Regions from separate parts of the Homo sapiens genome. Here regions 1, 2, 3 and 4 are each linked to region 5. The links are contacts of gene promoters, found by promoter capture Hi-C in human tissues and cell types (Jung and others, 2019). All regions are on one chromosome and are shown on one strand. The core of a region is centred on a gene start or on the middle of the fragment in contact, and the rest is flanking DNA. Distances in the headings are between cores, read along the strand shown.

The links. Contacts are between HindIII fragments. The study calls those that stand out against the background at their distance.
Region 1: the fragment with the promoter of GREB1L here is called in contact with the fragment with the promoter of SNRPD1 in region 5 in 1 of the 25 tissues and cell types used here (thymus).
Region 2: a fragment that was not itself captured here is called in contact with the fragment with the promoter of SNRPD1 in region 5 in 3 of the 25 tissues and cell types used here (hippocampus, lymphoblastoid cells and spleen).
Region 3: a contact is called between a fragment that was not itself captured here and the fragment with the promoter of SNRPD1 in region 5, in 2 of the 25 tissues and cell types used here (dorsolateral prefrontal cortex and spleen).
Region 4: a fragment that was not itself captured here is called in contact with the fragment with the promoter of SNRPD1 in region 5 in 3 of the 25 tissues and cell types used here (hippocampus, mesenchymal stem cells and mesendoderm cells).

The regions. Positions count from the first base shown.
Region 1 is chr18:21,240,948-21,243,647 of GRCh38, reverse strand. It overlaps GREB1L (GREB1 like retinoic acid receptor coactivator), which reads right to left and starts at 1,416. Exons shown (of 33, transcript NM_001142966.3): 1 at 1,255-1,416. It overlaps GREB1L-DT (GREB1L divergent transcript), which reads left to right and starts at 920. Exons shown (of 3, transcript NR_183513.1): 1 at 920-1,038; 2 at 2,313-2,371; 3 at 2,641-2,700. The HindIII fragment of the contact is 24,686 bases long and covers 1-2,700 here.
Region 2 is chr18:21,873,498-21,876,197 of GRCh38, reverse strand. No RefSeq gene overlaps it. Among named protein-coding and RNA genes, the nearest start is that of MIR133A1HG, 43 kb to the right of the region's middle. The HindIII fragment of the contact is 6,212 bases long and covers 1-2,700 here.
Region 3 is chr18:21,131,987-21,134,686 of GRCh38, reverse strand. No RefSeq gene overlaps it. Among named protein-coding and RNA genes, the nearest start is that of ROCK1, 22 kb to the right of the region's middle. RefSeq lists an enhancer at 2,514-2,700. The HindIII fragment of the contact is 6,202 bases long and covers 1-2,700 here.
Region 4 is chr18:21,261,513-21,264,212 of GRCh38, reverse strand. All of the region lies in intron 1 of GREB1L (GREB1 like retinoic acid receptor coactivator), which reads right to left. Among named protein-coding and RNA genes, the nearest start is that of GREB1L-DT, 20 kb to the right of the region's middle. RefSeq lists an enhancer at 760-1,287. The HindIII fragment of the contact is 6,154 bases long and covers 1-2,700 here.
Region 5 is chr18:21,611,043-21,613,742 of GRCh38, reverse strand. It overlaps SNRPD1 (small nuclear ribonucleoprotein D1 polypeptide), which reads right to left and starts at 1,429. Exons shown (of 4, transcript NM_006938.4): 1 at 1,300-1,429. The coding sequence starts at 1,313. RefSeq lists an enhancer at 1,281-1,370 and a silencer at 1,631-1,680. The HindIII fragment of the contact is 13,798 bases long and covers 1-2,700 here.

The sequences.
Region 1 (2,700 bases), core at 167-2,666, 370 kb after region 5:
ATTTAAAGTCTAAGAACATATATAGATGAATGAGAGGTTTTATTAAGGGGGACTGAGTTCAAAAACCTTTTGTGGGAAAGCTCTTCCCTGTATTTAAACGGCTAGGTTTAAAAATGTGATTTAAGCAGGGATTCCCGCCTCGAGGCGGGGGGAGGCGGAAAAAAACACCTTACGGTGTGAAAAGCAGAAATTAAAATGTGGTTTCTATCCTCTCAGCCGGGGCCAGAGGAGTGGGTGGGGAGGATAAGGACCTTGGAACCGTCACGTTCACCGGAGAAAGGGGCAAGACTGAGGAGTTTCTCCAGGACCCGCAGCCTCGGTTAGAGGCAGCGGCAGTTCCGGGCAAACGAGTCGCGTTCGGGGACGTTCCTTGGACTCATGTAACTGAGAAACCCCACGCACTGAATCTCCACATGGAGTTTCCTCTTAATGGAGCTGGGAAGAGGGACGGCGGGAATGGATTTCCTTTAACGAGTCTCCCTCACCCTCCCCGGCCAGGGCGCACCTCACTCGCTGTCTGCTTGTGTCAGGGTCAGCTGTCAACACAACTCTTTGTGTCTCATTCGGAATAAGAGTGGTCCTCAGCCATGCACAGAAAAATGGACATGCTGGCCGGAAGACACGCGCGCCCGCTCGTGACGAAGTGACATTTGGTGTTGAGGAAAAAAACCCACAGACGCCGAGCGAGCGCCCAGCCACCTCTGGACGTTCTCAACTTTCCCAGGCTGAACTCCATCCATCCTCTCCCCGCCACCTCCGCGGCGCCCTACCTGTCGCCCGCCCGCCTGCCCGGCACCCCCTCACTGCCCCTGGGCTCGGGGAGACGAACCAGGTGCCCCCTCGCCGCCTCCGCCGGGGGACCCCGCGCTACTCGGCGCGCCGCAGCTCCCTCGTCCCACCCCCGGGCCGTCTCGCTCCCGCCACAAAGGCAGCGAGTAGAGCCCGGTGACAGGCCTTCGGCCTCTGGGCGCGGACAGCACGGCCGGGTCCCTTCGGTGGGCGACGCGAGGCGGCAGGGAAGGCAGGCACGGCTCCCAGGTTGGCACTGGCGCTCCCTCGCCACCCGCACGCGCTCCGCTCACACCCCCGCTGAGCTTCCCATCCCTCCGGAAAAGTCCGCTGCGGCGCTTCCCCGCGCGGCCAGGGCGTCCAGCCCGCCAAAGGGCAGCTCCTGCCGGTCACAGGCGAGCTCCCGCGCCCGGTTCGCGACCTCTCACCTCCTGCCCGCGCCCCGGAGTCCCCGCGGCCGCTCACCTGGCCCTAGCGGGGCGCGAGGGCAGAGGACCAGGGGGTGGCCCTCGGCTCGGCCGGGCTGGTCTCCCCACCCCCAGTGCCGTTCCCTGCGCCGCGCTGCGCTCCGCTGCTCCGGCCGCCCGACTCCGAGGTGCTAGCGCCGCCGGCGGCTGGCGTCTCTCTGGCAGGCGCGCGGTCCGCGCGCTCAGTTCCCCGGGGCGGAGCGAGGCGGCGGCCGCCGCAGCCGGAGGCGGATTCCTCAGGTGCTGCCCCTCCCGCCCGCCCTGGCCTCCGCAGCGGGGACCCCCGCGCCCCCTCCCCCCGCCCCGCCTCGCGCCTTCCCGCTGCCTCGGCGTCCGCGAGTGGCTTTTGGGGGTCCCTCGCCCTCTGTGAGGGTGGTGGGCGCGCATTTCTCCCCTACCCCCCTCCAACGACGCCCCCCGCCCAGCCTGTGGAGCCCTCGATGCGCGGTCCTCACGCCTCCATTCCCAAACCCCGCCGCACAGACGAACGCGCAGCCCCGCGGGGGTGTACAGGGGGTCGTGCGGGGGGGGGGTCTTCTGTGAGGGAGGGCTGCACCCCAGTGTGCTGACGCGCGAAGCCAGGAGGAAAAATTATTTCCCCTGGAGCCCGCGTTCATTCAGCCTGCTCTCGCCTCTGCGCAATTGCTTTCTCTGTTCACTGGACGGCGGCTGAAGAGCCCCAAGCGTGAACTCGGCCTGGGCAGTGGTGGCTCGGAAACCCTTGGCCTTTTGCATGAAGGGGGTAGGGTGGGGGCAGGGCGCGGACAAAACCAAACAAACCCGGGAGCTCCGGGCCCAAGCCGACTTTTGCACCTCCCGGAGGAGCACGCCCTCCGGCCCCGGGCCCCGGCTCGTCGGTAGCCTCCCGGGACCACGGGGACGGCTCCACCCCAGGGCAGCCGCGTCCAGCTGGCCCTGGGCCTTGACGGGTGCTGCGGGGAAAAGGTTCTTGAGAGATGCTGCGGCCCGGTAGAGAGATTTAGCTCCACTTTTCACAGCTGGAGGCTTTTGTTATTAGAGATGCGGCTCCATTTTTAAAACTAATTGTTGCCACAGATAGGCGACTACATCTCTGGAAGCAGCAGCTCCATGCTGGATGTGGTGGAAGAATCGAGGTAAGGAAAGGCTGATGTATTTTGAGTGCCTTTAGTGCAGTACAGCCCGGGGGAGCTCCCCGTGTGCGTGGGAGTGGGGAGGCAGCCGCGGCGCCCAGGCCCGGGTGGGTTGGAATCATTGTCAAGTGATAGGTACCATTTAAAGACATTGTCAATTAAACTAGTTCTCATACGATGTCCCAGTACTTTTGTTTGCTTGTCTTGCATTTTTCTTTTTTGCCATATCCGAAATACATTTTTTTCTTTCCTGTCACTTTTGATCCATGCAGAGGGAATGGACTGGAAGTTTGGAATCACCGGAAAATAACAAGGCATAGCTAAGCTGTGAC
Region 2 (2,700 bases), core at 182-2,681, 260 kb before region 5:
TGCATATAGTTATCCAGTTTTCCCAGCACCATTCACTGAAAAGATTGTCCTTTCTACATTGTAATTTCTTGGCACCTTGGTTGAATATGAGTTGGCTGTAAATGCACGGATTCATATTTGGGTTCTCTATTCTGTTCCATTGGTCTATGTATCTGTTTTTATGCCAGTATCATACTGTTTTGATTACTATAGCTTTGTAATAAATTTTGAAGCCAGGTAGTGTGATGTCTCCAGCTTTGCTCTTTCTGTTCAGGATTTCTTTGGCTATTTGGTCTTTCGTAGTTTCATATACATTTTAGGATTGTTTTTCTATTTCTGTGAAGAATGTTATTCATGTTTTGAAAGAAATGGCATCGGATCTGTAAATTGCTTTAGGTACTATGGTCACTTTAAAAATATTAATTCTTCCAACCCATGAGCATGGAATGTTTTCCCATTTGTGTGTGTGTATGTGTGTCCTTTTCTATTTCTTTCATCAGTTTTACAGTTTTCCTTGTATAGATCTTTCACTACTTTTGTTAGATTGATTCTTAGGTATTTTATATTTTTTTGTAGCTGTTGTAAATAGGATTACTTTTTTGATTTTCCAGGTTGTTTGCTGTTGGCATATAGAAATGCTACTGATTTTTGTATGTAGGTTTTGTATTCTGCAACTTTACTGAATTCATTTATCAGTTCTAACATATTTTGGTGAAGATTTTAGGTTTTTCTAGGTATAAGATCATGTCGCCTGTGAACAAGGCTAATTTGATGTCTTCCTTTCCAATTTGGATGCCCTTTATTTATTTCTCTTGCCTAATTGCTCAGCCTTTAATTTTTCTCCATTTAGTACAATGTTTAGCCATGGGTTTGTCATAGATGGCCTTTTATTATTTTGAGGTATGCTCCTTTAATACCCATCATAAAGGGATGTTAAATTTTATCAAATGCTTTTTCAGCATCTATTAAAATAATCACATGGTTTTTATCCTTGATTCTGTTAATGAGATGTATCATGTTTATTGACTTGTGTATTGTATGGCAGATGCACCTGACAGCAGTAACTTAAGCATACCCTGAGAATGACCCTATGGTCTAAGAAGAATGTGTGCTCAGAGTTCCATGCTAAGGAATCCAGTAGTGGCTAATCTGGAGATTCACTTCTTATGAAGGACGTTGAACCCCTCTGCCCATTCCTTGAAACATAGGATGTGCAAGGAAACGAGGCCACTTTTCTTGGTTAAATGAAGTTTGCTAGGTTGGTGTTGCTACGTGAAAATGCCATATAAACTGCATGCTTTTTACAAACAGTAGCAGTGCTCCTGTCCACCCTGTCACCTCTGGACTGCCTTGTATGTAAGTCCTCTGTAAACCCTGTCTCGTTTACTGGCTCCAGGTCTCTTCTGGGCCTCTCAGACACAATGCCATCTCTTTTGGAGTCAGTAGGGGTCTGGCATGACACATATGTTGAACCATCTTTGCATCCCTGGGATGAATCCCACTTGACCATGGCGAATGATCTTTTTAATGTGTTGTTGTATTTTGTAATATTTTGTTGAGGATTTTTGCATCTATGTCCATAAGGGATAATGGCCTGCAGTTTTCTTTTTTTTATTGTGTCCTTGTCTGGTTTGGGTATCAGGGTGATATTGTTTGGCTCTGTGACCCCACCCAAATCTCACCTTGAGTTGTAATAATCCCCATGTGTCAAGGGCAGAACCAGGTGGAGATAATTGAGTCATGGGGGCAGTTTCTGCCATGCTGTTCTCATGATAGTGAGTTCTCATGAGAGCTGATGATTTTATAAGGGGCTTCCCCCTTTGCTCGGCATTCATTATCTCTCCTGCCACCCTGTGAAGGGGTGCCTTCTGCCATGATTGCAAGTTTCCCGAGGCCTCCCCAGCCATGTGGAACTGTGAGTCAATTAAACCTCTTTTCTTTATAAATTACCCGGTCTTGGGTATTTCTTCATAGCAGCGTGAGAATGAACTAATACACAAGGTAATGCTAGCCTGATAGAATTTGTTTGGAAGTATTCCCTCCTTTTCAATTTTTGGAGGAGTTTAATTGGTATTAATACTTCTTTTGAACGTTTGGTAGAATCCACCAGTGAAGCAATCAGGTCCTTGGGCTTTTCTTTGATTGGAGACTTTATTGGGGTTTCAATCTCATTACTTGTTACTGGTCTGTTCAGGTTTTCTACTTCTTCGTGGCTCAATCTCGGTAGGGTGTATGTGTCCAGGAATTTACCCATTTCTTCTAGGTTTTCCAATTTATTGGCATATCATTATTCATAATATTCTCCAATGATCCTTTGCATTTATGTGGTATCAGATGTTATGTTACCTTTCTCATTTCTGATATTATTTGGGTCTTCTCTTTTTTTAGTCTAGCTAAAAGTCAGTCAATTTTATCTTTTCAAAAAAACAACTTTTCATTTTATTCAACTTTGTTTCTTTCCTAGTCCCAATTTCATTTATTTCTGTGCTGATCTTTATTACTTCCTTCCTTCTACAAATTTTGAGTTTGGTTTGTCTTTTCTTTGGGAAATTTAGTCCATTTGCATTCCATGTTATTATTGATAAGAACTTACTATTGCCATTTTGTTCTTTGTTTTCTGGTTGTTTTATAACTAACTCCTCTCTTCCTTTCTTCCTTTCTTTGTGGTTAATTTTATCTCTGGTAAAATTTTTTTTTGTTTTTTCTTTTTATTTTTGAGAC
Region 3 (2,700 bases), core at 69-2,568, 480 kb after region 5:
CATGGTGAAACCACGTCTCTACTAATAATACAAAATTAGCTGGGCATGGTGGCGCGTGCCTGTAATCCCAGCTACATGGGAGGTTGTGGCAGGAGAATCGCTTGAACCAAGGTTGCAGCGAGCTGAGATCACGCCACTACACTCCAGCCTGGATGACAAGAGTGAGACTCCATCTCAAACAACAACAACAATAACAAACAACAAAAAACAAAAAACAACAACAAAAAATTATACATATTTTAAAGAACTAAATAGGAAGAAAAAGGCAAACAATCTTTTAGATTTACCCAGCTATTTACTGTTCGTGTTGTTCTTCATTCATTCCTAAAGTTCCAGGTTTCACCTAGTATTATTTTGCTTCAGTCTGAAGAACTTCCTTGCACATTTCTTTTAGTTAGCTATGAGTTTTCTTAGTTTTCCTTCATCTGAGAATATCTTTGTTTCTCCTTCATGCCTGAGGATATTTTTGCTGGATGTGGAGTGCTGGCTTGACAGTTTTGTCATAATTTTACAGATGTTATTCCACTGTCTTCTGGCTTCTGTGGTTTCTGATGAGAAGTCCAACATCATTGTTAACATCATCGTTCTCCTGTATATAATGTGTCATTTTTCCTTAGCTGCTTTTAAGATTTTTTTCATTACATTTAGTGTTTAGTAGTTTGATTATAATGTGTTTGGGTGCGCTTTTCTCTGAGTTTATTCTATTTTGGGTTCGCTGAACTTCTTAAATCTGCAAGTTGATGTCTTTTTCTCCAAGTTTGGGAAGTTTTCAGTCATTATCTTCAAATGTTTTTTTCCATACCAATATCTTTATAGGACTCCAGTGTTATCAGTGTTAGACTTTTGATATAGTCCCATGAGTCCCTGAAGTTCTATTCAGTTTTTTTCCGATCTTTTTTCTCTTTGTTCTTCAAATTGGATAACTTCTATTAATCTGTCTTTAGGTTCACTTACTCTTTTCTCTGTCATCTTCATTCTGCTATTGAACCCATCCAGTAAATTTTATTTTACGTATGTATTTATTTTGAGACAGGGTCTCACTCTGTTACCCAGGCTGGAATGCAGTGGCACAATCTTGACTCACTGCAACTTCCACCTCCCAGGCTCAAGTGATCTTCCCACCTCAGCCACCTGAGTAGCTGGGACCACAGTTACGTGTCACCATGCCTAGCTAATTTTTTGTATTTTTGGTAGAGACCATGTTGCCCAGGCTGGTTTTGAACTCCTGACCTCAAGTGATACATACGCTTGCCTCAGCCTCCCAAAGAGCCGGGATTACAGGTGTGAGCCACCATATCCGGCCCCATCCAGTAAATTTTAAATTTCAGATATTGTATGTTTCAATACTAAATTTTCTATTTTCTTTTTTAATGATCTTTCCACTTACTTTACTTAACATGTGTTTTCCTTTACCTCATGAAGCTTATAGTATCTATTTTAAAGTCTTTATTTGACAATGTCACCAGGTGTGTCATCTTGGGGTTGACCTTTGCTAACTGTCTGTTCTCTTAAGAACTGGTCACGGCCAGGCACGGTGACTCACACCTGTAATCCCAGCACTTTGGGAGGCTGAGGCGGGCAGATCACAAGGTCAGGATATCGAGACCATCCTGGCTAACACGTGAAACCCCGTCTCTACTACAAATACAAAAAATTAGCCTGGCATTCAGAGGGGACAGCGTGCTGGCAGCCCTCGCAGCCCTCGCTCACTCTTGGCACCTCCTTGGCCTCTGAGACCACTCTGGCCATGCTCCAGGAGCCCTTCAGCCTGCCACTGCGCTGTGGGGGCCCCCCTCTGGGCTGGTTGAGGCCAGAGCCGGCTCCCTCAGCTTGCCGGGAGGTGTGGAGGGAGAGGAGCGGGTGGGAACCAGGGCTGCGTGTGGCGCTTGCAGGCCAGCTAGAGTTCCGGATGGGCGTGGGCTTGGCGGGCCCTGCACTCAGAGCGGCCCTGGGCAGTGGGGCCAGCAGCTGCGGAGGGTGCACTGGGTCCCCCAGCAGTGCCTGCGCTCGATTTCTCGCCGGGCCTTAGCTGCCTCCCCGCGGGGCAGGGCTCGGGATGTGGGCTCCTGCGCAGCCCGAGCCTCCCTGAGCGAGTGCCACTCCCTGCTCCACAGCGCCCGATCCCATCCACCGCCCAAGGGCTGAGGAGTGCAGGCCACGGCCCAGGACTGGCAGGCAGCTCCACCTGCGGCCCAGTGCGGGATCCACTGGATGAAGCCAGCAGGGCTCCTGAGTCTAGTGGGGACTTGGAGAACCTTTAGGTCTAGCTAAGGGATTGTCAACACACCAATCAGCACACTGTGCCTAGCTCCGGATTTGTGGATGCATCAATGGCACTCTGTATCTAGCTAATCTGGTGGACACTTGGAGAATCTTTATGTCTAGCTAAGGGACTGTGAATACACCAATCGGCACTCTGTATCTAGCGCAAGGTTTGTAAATGCACCAATCAGCACCCTGCGTCTAGCTCAAGGTTTGTAAATGCACCAATCTGTGGGTGCTCTGTGTCTAGCTGATCTGGTGGGGACTTGGAGAACCTTTATGTCTAGCTAAGGGATTCTAAACGCACCAATCAGCACCTTGTCAAAATGGACCAATCAGCTCTCTGTAAAACAGACCAATCGGCTCTCTATAAAATTGACCAATCAGTAGGCTGTGGGTGGGGCCAGATAAGACAATAAAACCAGGCTGCCCAAGTTC
Region 4 (2,700 bases), core at 53-2,552, 350 kb after region 5:
TCTGCTACATAATTAGATCCCTAAGGAACTAACAATTAAGCTTTTTTCTTGTGATCAGGCCCTTTGATTCTACCTAAACAACATACCTTTATCTACACAAATGAATTATAGGTTAGATCTCAAAGCAGTTTATTTTGATCAGATGCTTGATTTTGAAGTTATCAGTGGTTTCAGAGAAAATTCTGCACTGGGGAGTCACAAGGCAATTCAACTGTAAAGAGATGAGAATTAAACTAAAAGGTAGACAAAATCTGCCAACAATCTTCCTATAACTTCAGAAGTGAAAATGATTGTTTTTGTATTTCTTGGTCATACAACAAAATGGTAGCAGTGAAGGTTGTTCTTGTCTTATGAAAAATGACACTTAACTACTCTCTGATCTCTATTGCTTCTGAGATAACCTACAAAAACTGATGACTGACTGACTTAGAATGCTAGGTGACAGAGATCCCTACTTCTCTAGTCAATAACCATTTATTAAACAGTGTCACAGTGAGTAGGTAGCATTTAAAGTAAGGAGTAGCTCTACCACCCTAAAATGTAATTTGCAGATATATGACAACAGATATCACAGAAAATTTACCATTTACATAACCATATCATAAAAGTCTAACTTAGATTTAGGACAACATTAAACTTAAGTCATTGAAAATTCAAATGGAAAATTCAAGTTGAGACTTAAGAAAAGATTCTATATAAAGATTTATCAAAAATCACAACCAGGGAGATATGAATTCTGGAAACTAAAGACAAGGAGATTTCAATGTTTAAGACAGGTAATACACAACTAGAAAACTACATGTCCAATTATTTTATTCAATTTTTCTGTAATCTCAGCACAGAAACTACAGAAAACAACCTTAAGGCTATTTTTGTAATGGACGAAGACAAGGATAGTGACCTACCAACAAGTGAAAACCCTTCAATATGAGTCTGTGCTTGCAATCCCAAACCAAACGTGCTGATTCAGCACAAAGTCATCAATGGAGTTCTTATCTTTTCAAGGAACAATCCATTGTCTGGCTGAAACAAAGGGCAGTGCACAGGAAATCAGCCAAATCTGGGCCAGATGGCCACTGATTCAAGTTTCATTCTCCCCATCCCCCACCTTCCCTGGCACTGCAAAAAAAGATGCAGGCAGCACTTTCAGTCACCAGGTAATAATCTGCATGTGGGGTATAAACCTTTTACAATTACATATACTCCCCACCTCAACACCATGTAATTTGTTAAAGCAGAATGTCCTTATAAAATGTTTAATGAGGAAGATCTATAAAGCAATTCTTGAAAATACCCCTGTAAGCCCATCGTTTCTTAGGCATGGCATGAAGTTTTAGCAGACGAAATGATTAAAAATATTCATACTAACTTGTTCTCATCTACTGTTTTTCTCAAACCATGACACAAACTAGAAATGAACCCAGAGAAAACTGCTTTATCATGGCCATTTCCATGGGTTGATATCACTGGCCCACCGCCTTGCTAAGAACTTCTAGGTTTTGTAACCTAGAAACACTTTGTACAATTACAATGACAAACTACTAATACAAGTAATTAGAATAATGATTAATACTAACTTCCAAATCATGTTAAGAAACATAAAATTTTTGTTACAAAATATCTGTCTTAAACTAACTGGGCTTTGATCCAAATGAGGTAGAACATTGCTTTCTGTGTGAAATAACAGAAACAACTGTTTGGGAAAGCAGAAGTGTAACGGAGCAAAAGTATCTCTAAGCACGTAATCTTATAAAAAATTTTATAAAGTATTCACATACTCCATCTGGGATGGGAAAAGCCCAACCACATAAGTAACCCCATAAGGTCTGTCATTCAAAACAGAGAAAGAATTCTAGTTTTTAAAGTTCACTTTCTCCAAGCCTCAGAAGTTAAGAGGAATGGCAAGGAAGTTGGAGAAGGAGCAAAAAAAAAGATCTGTGTTTGAAAGGAGAGGTAGTTACTACCCCTAAGAATGATGCCAATAACTCCTGTTCTCAAGGAAATCACCCCTACATATTATTCTGGAATCACGGAGTAAACAGGAGAAAAATGCTAGTGGATTTTCATAAAAACCAGTGTGTCTGACCGTGTGTCATAGAATCTGTAAATTAGTATACTGCTATAAATACACAATTTGCATCCTTACTGGTTACTATAAAACTCAATTTTAAATTCTAACCAATAACTATTAATTTAAAGCAAATCATACAGAATTATGTCATACTTAAATCATGGAAACATGTATATTAAAGAATGGCATAAGTAAAAATCTAAGACCTCAAAATGTTCAAAACACTTTTACTTTTCCTAGCTTTATAAAATAAAGGTATTTAGAAAATAAAAAATTAAAATAAAATAAAGGTATTTAGAATAAACAAAAGTCTTTTCTTTGATGGCAACCCTTGACTCTATAGGGGTTGCTTGAGAAATATTTACATTTATGTGGCTTAAGTAAATTTTGTCAACCAACAAATAGCAATTCCTTTAGTAAATTTTATAATCCTTTTTATAATTACTTTGGAAATGTCAATGCAGGAGTAAATTTTATTGGCATGCTACAGTGTCGCTTTTCCAAAATTTACATATAGAAAGGTTAGGGTAGATCAAGGAGGTTTTCTGCCTACTTGTTTGTTTTTTTAACACAAGATAATCACAGGCTGGTAATGAAATGACTAAAGACAAAAATGACTTGAAAATATG
Region 5 (2,700 bases), core at 180-2,679:
GCTGGGATTAAAGGCGCGCGCCACCACGCCCCACTAACTTTTGTAATTTTCGTAGAGACGGGGTTTCACCATGTTGGTCAGGCTGGTCTCGAACTCCTGACCTAGTGATCCACCCGCCTTGGCCTCCCAAAGTGCTGGGATTACAGACGTGAGCCACTGCGCCTGGCCTCCTCCCTGAGTGTTGAAGGCTTTTATGTGTTATTTAAAACGTTTCAAACAAACGTTACTTCAGACGTTATCTACTTGTCTGTCATCCCCACTAACCAGAAAACTCCAACAAGGCAGGTACTCTGCCTTTTAAAAAATCCTATTACCAGCGCCTAGTATGTAACAGGTGCCCAATAACTATTTAGCGGATATTGACAATCCTTGACTCAACAGGAAAAAAACAAGCTAAATATTTATAATTGCTGGCTTAGCTATTAGAAACGTCTGCCTCTGTTCCAGGCTTAGTCTCAAGGAAAAACACCAAAACCAAATCTACTTGCAGGTAGTTTAGAATTATTCACATCAGCAAACAAGTTTTCAGAAGACTCACCTAACTGACAGGGTCTATTTATTTCTTAAGAAATAAAACAGGAGAACTATATATTATCTGAGTAATCAGCCACAATTACGTTGTGATAATTTCTGCCCTATATTGGGAGATTTTCCTAAATAAAAAGCCTACCTTAAAGGGAAATAGAGGTGGAATAATCAATCACAAATCTAAGGAGGATAAAAAGGTAAACTTAAAAATCGGCCGGGCACGGTGGCTCAAACCTGTAATCTCAGCCCTTTGGAAGGGCGAGGCGGGCAGAAAGCTTGAGCCCAGGAGTTCGAGACCAGCCTGGTCAACAAAGTGAGACACCATCTTTATTTAAAAAAACAAAAACTTGTGAAGCCGGAAGTCCTTCTCTGATTTAAAATATTTTGCAAACAGGTTTGTTTCCAGATAAGCTCATACAGCTTTCTAAGTACTGTTAAGCAGGACTGGGGAGTTCCACTCAAAAAGAAAATGAGTAACTGTAAGAGGGAGATGTGTCCCAGGAGGCGCTGCATCTTTAAAGCCTCTAAGTCACTAGGCAGGAAGAAAAGGCTCGGCCTTTATACCAATCTCTTGGAAGACACGCGGGATCCGCGAGCGACCCAGGCGGAAGCCCAGGCCCGAGCACGAGCTGCGGGCGCAGTAAGGCCGGCCGTTAGCAGGCCGCGCACACGCGGCTTTCCCGCCTCCTGCAAATGGGAGAGCCCAGCCTTCCGGACTCCGGGCCAAGCCCTCCCTTCACAGCCCCCAGAGCTGCTTGGTCACTCCCTCACCTCACGAGCTTCATCCTAGCGGCGCCGTCACCCTCTGGGTCCGACAGCACACAGAATCCTTCAACCGAACACTGACCGACTGCAGTATGAATGGCCGGAAGCGCCTACTCCAGGGGCTCCGGACGTCAAGAGCGCGCGGAGCACTGCAGGCGCATGGCGGAAACGCCGAGGCTGCGCTGGGCCGCACTCTCTTCCGGCCGCGAGGAGCGCGACTGCGGCCCCTGGCGGCTGGAGGTTGCCTTGCGACGGCTGAGGGTATCGAGGGCTGGTCTTGGAGAAAAATGTCCTACAAGAGAGGGAGATTCGAAGAGATTAAATCCAATTAATAGGACTGTCGCATTTTGGGAGGCCGAAGCGGGGGTATCACCTGAGGTCAGGAGTTCAAGACCAGCCTGGCCAACAGGGTGAAACCCCCGTCTCTACTAAAAAGACAAAAAATTAGCTGGGCGTGGTGGCGGGCGCATGTAATCCCAGCTACTCGGAAGGCTGAGGCAGGGGAATCGCTTGAACCCGGGAGGCGGAGGCTGCAGTGAGCGGAGATCGCACCACTACACTCCTGCCTGGGCAACAAGAACGAAACTCCGTCTCCCAAAAAAAAAAAAAAAAAAAAAAAGTACTGTCACCATCACGTTTCTGAACAGCAGGGCACTGTGAGTGCAGCACCTAATACAAATTCCTCACTGAACGGAAAGAAGGTCTTAGAGAAGCCCAAAGTCTTATGCTGATTCTGTTCCAACACCAGGAACCTAGCATTGCTTACTGTACCTGAAGCAAATCACACAATGGGCCAGGCGCTGTGGCTCAAGCCTGTAATTCCAGCACTTTGGGAGGCCGAGGCGGGCAGATAGCGAGGTCAAGAGATCGAGACCATTCTGGCCAACATGGTGAAACCCCGCCTCTACTAAAAATACAAAAATTAGCGGGGCGTGGTGATGCGCGCCTGTAGTCCCAGCTATTCGGGAGGCTGAGGCAGGAGAATCGCTTGAACCCAGGAGGTGGAGGTTGCAGTGAGCTGAGATCGTGCCACTGCACTCCAGCCTGGCAACAGAGCGAGACTCCGTCTCAAAAAATAATAATAATAAAAATAAAATCCACAATGTAGCAGATTATTTTCACTTTAAGTTCCAATCTATAAGACAAACTTTTCAGTCTTCATCTTTCTCAACATCTCATCAAAATATATATATTTTTTATTTTTTTGAGATGGAGTCTCACTCTGTCGCCCAGGCCGGAGTGCAGTAGCGCGATCTCAGCTCACTGCAACCCTTGCCTCCCGGTTTCAAGCCATTCTCGTGCCTCAGCCTCTCCAGTAACTGAGATTACAGGCGCGCATCACCATGGCCCGCTAATTATCGTCTTTTTATGTATGTATGTATGTACGTACGTATGTATGTATTTTGA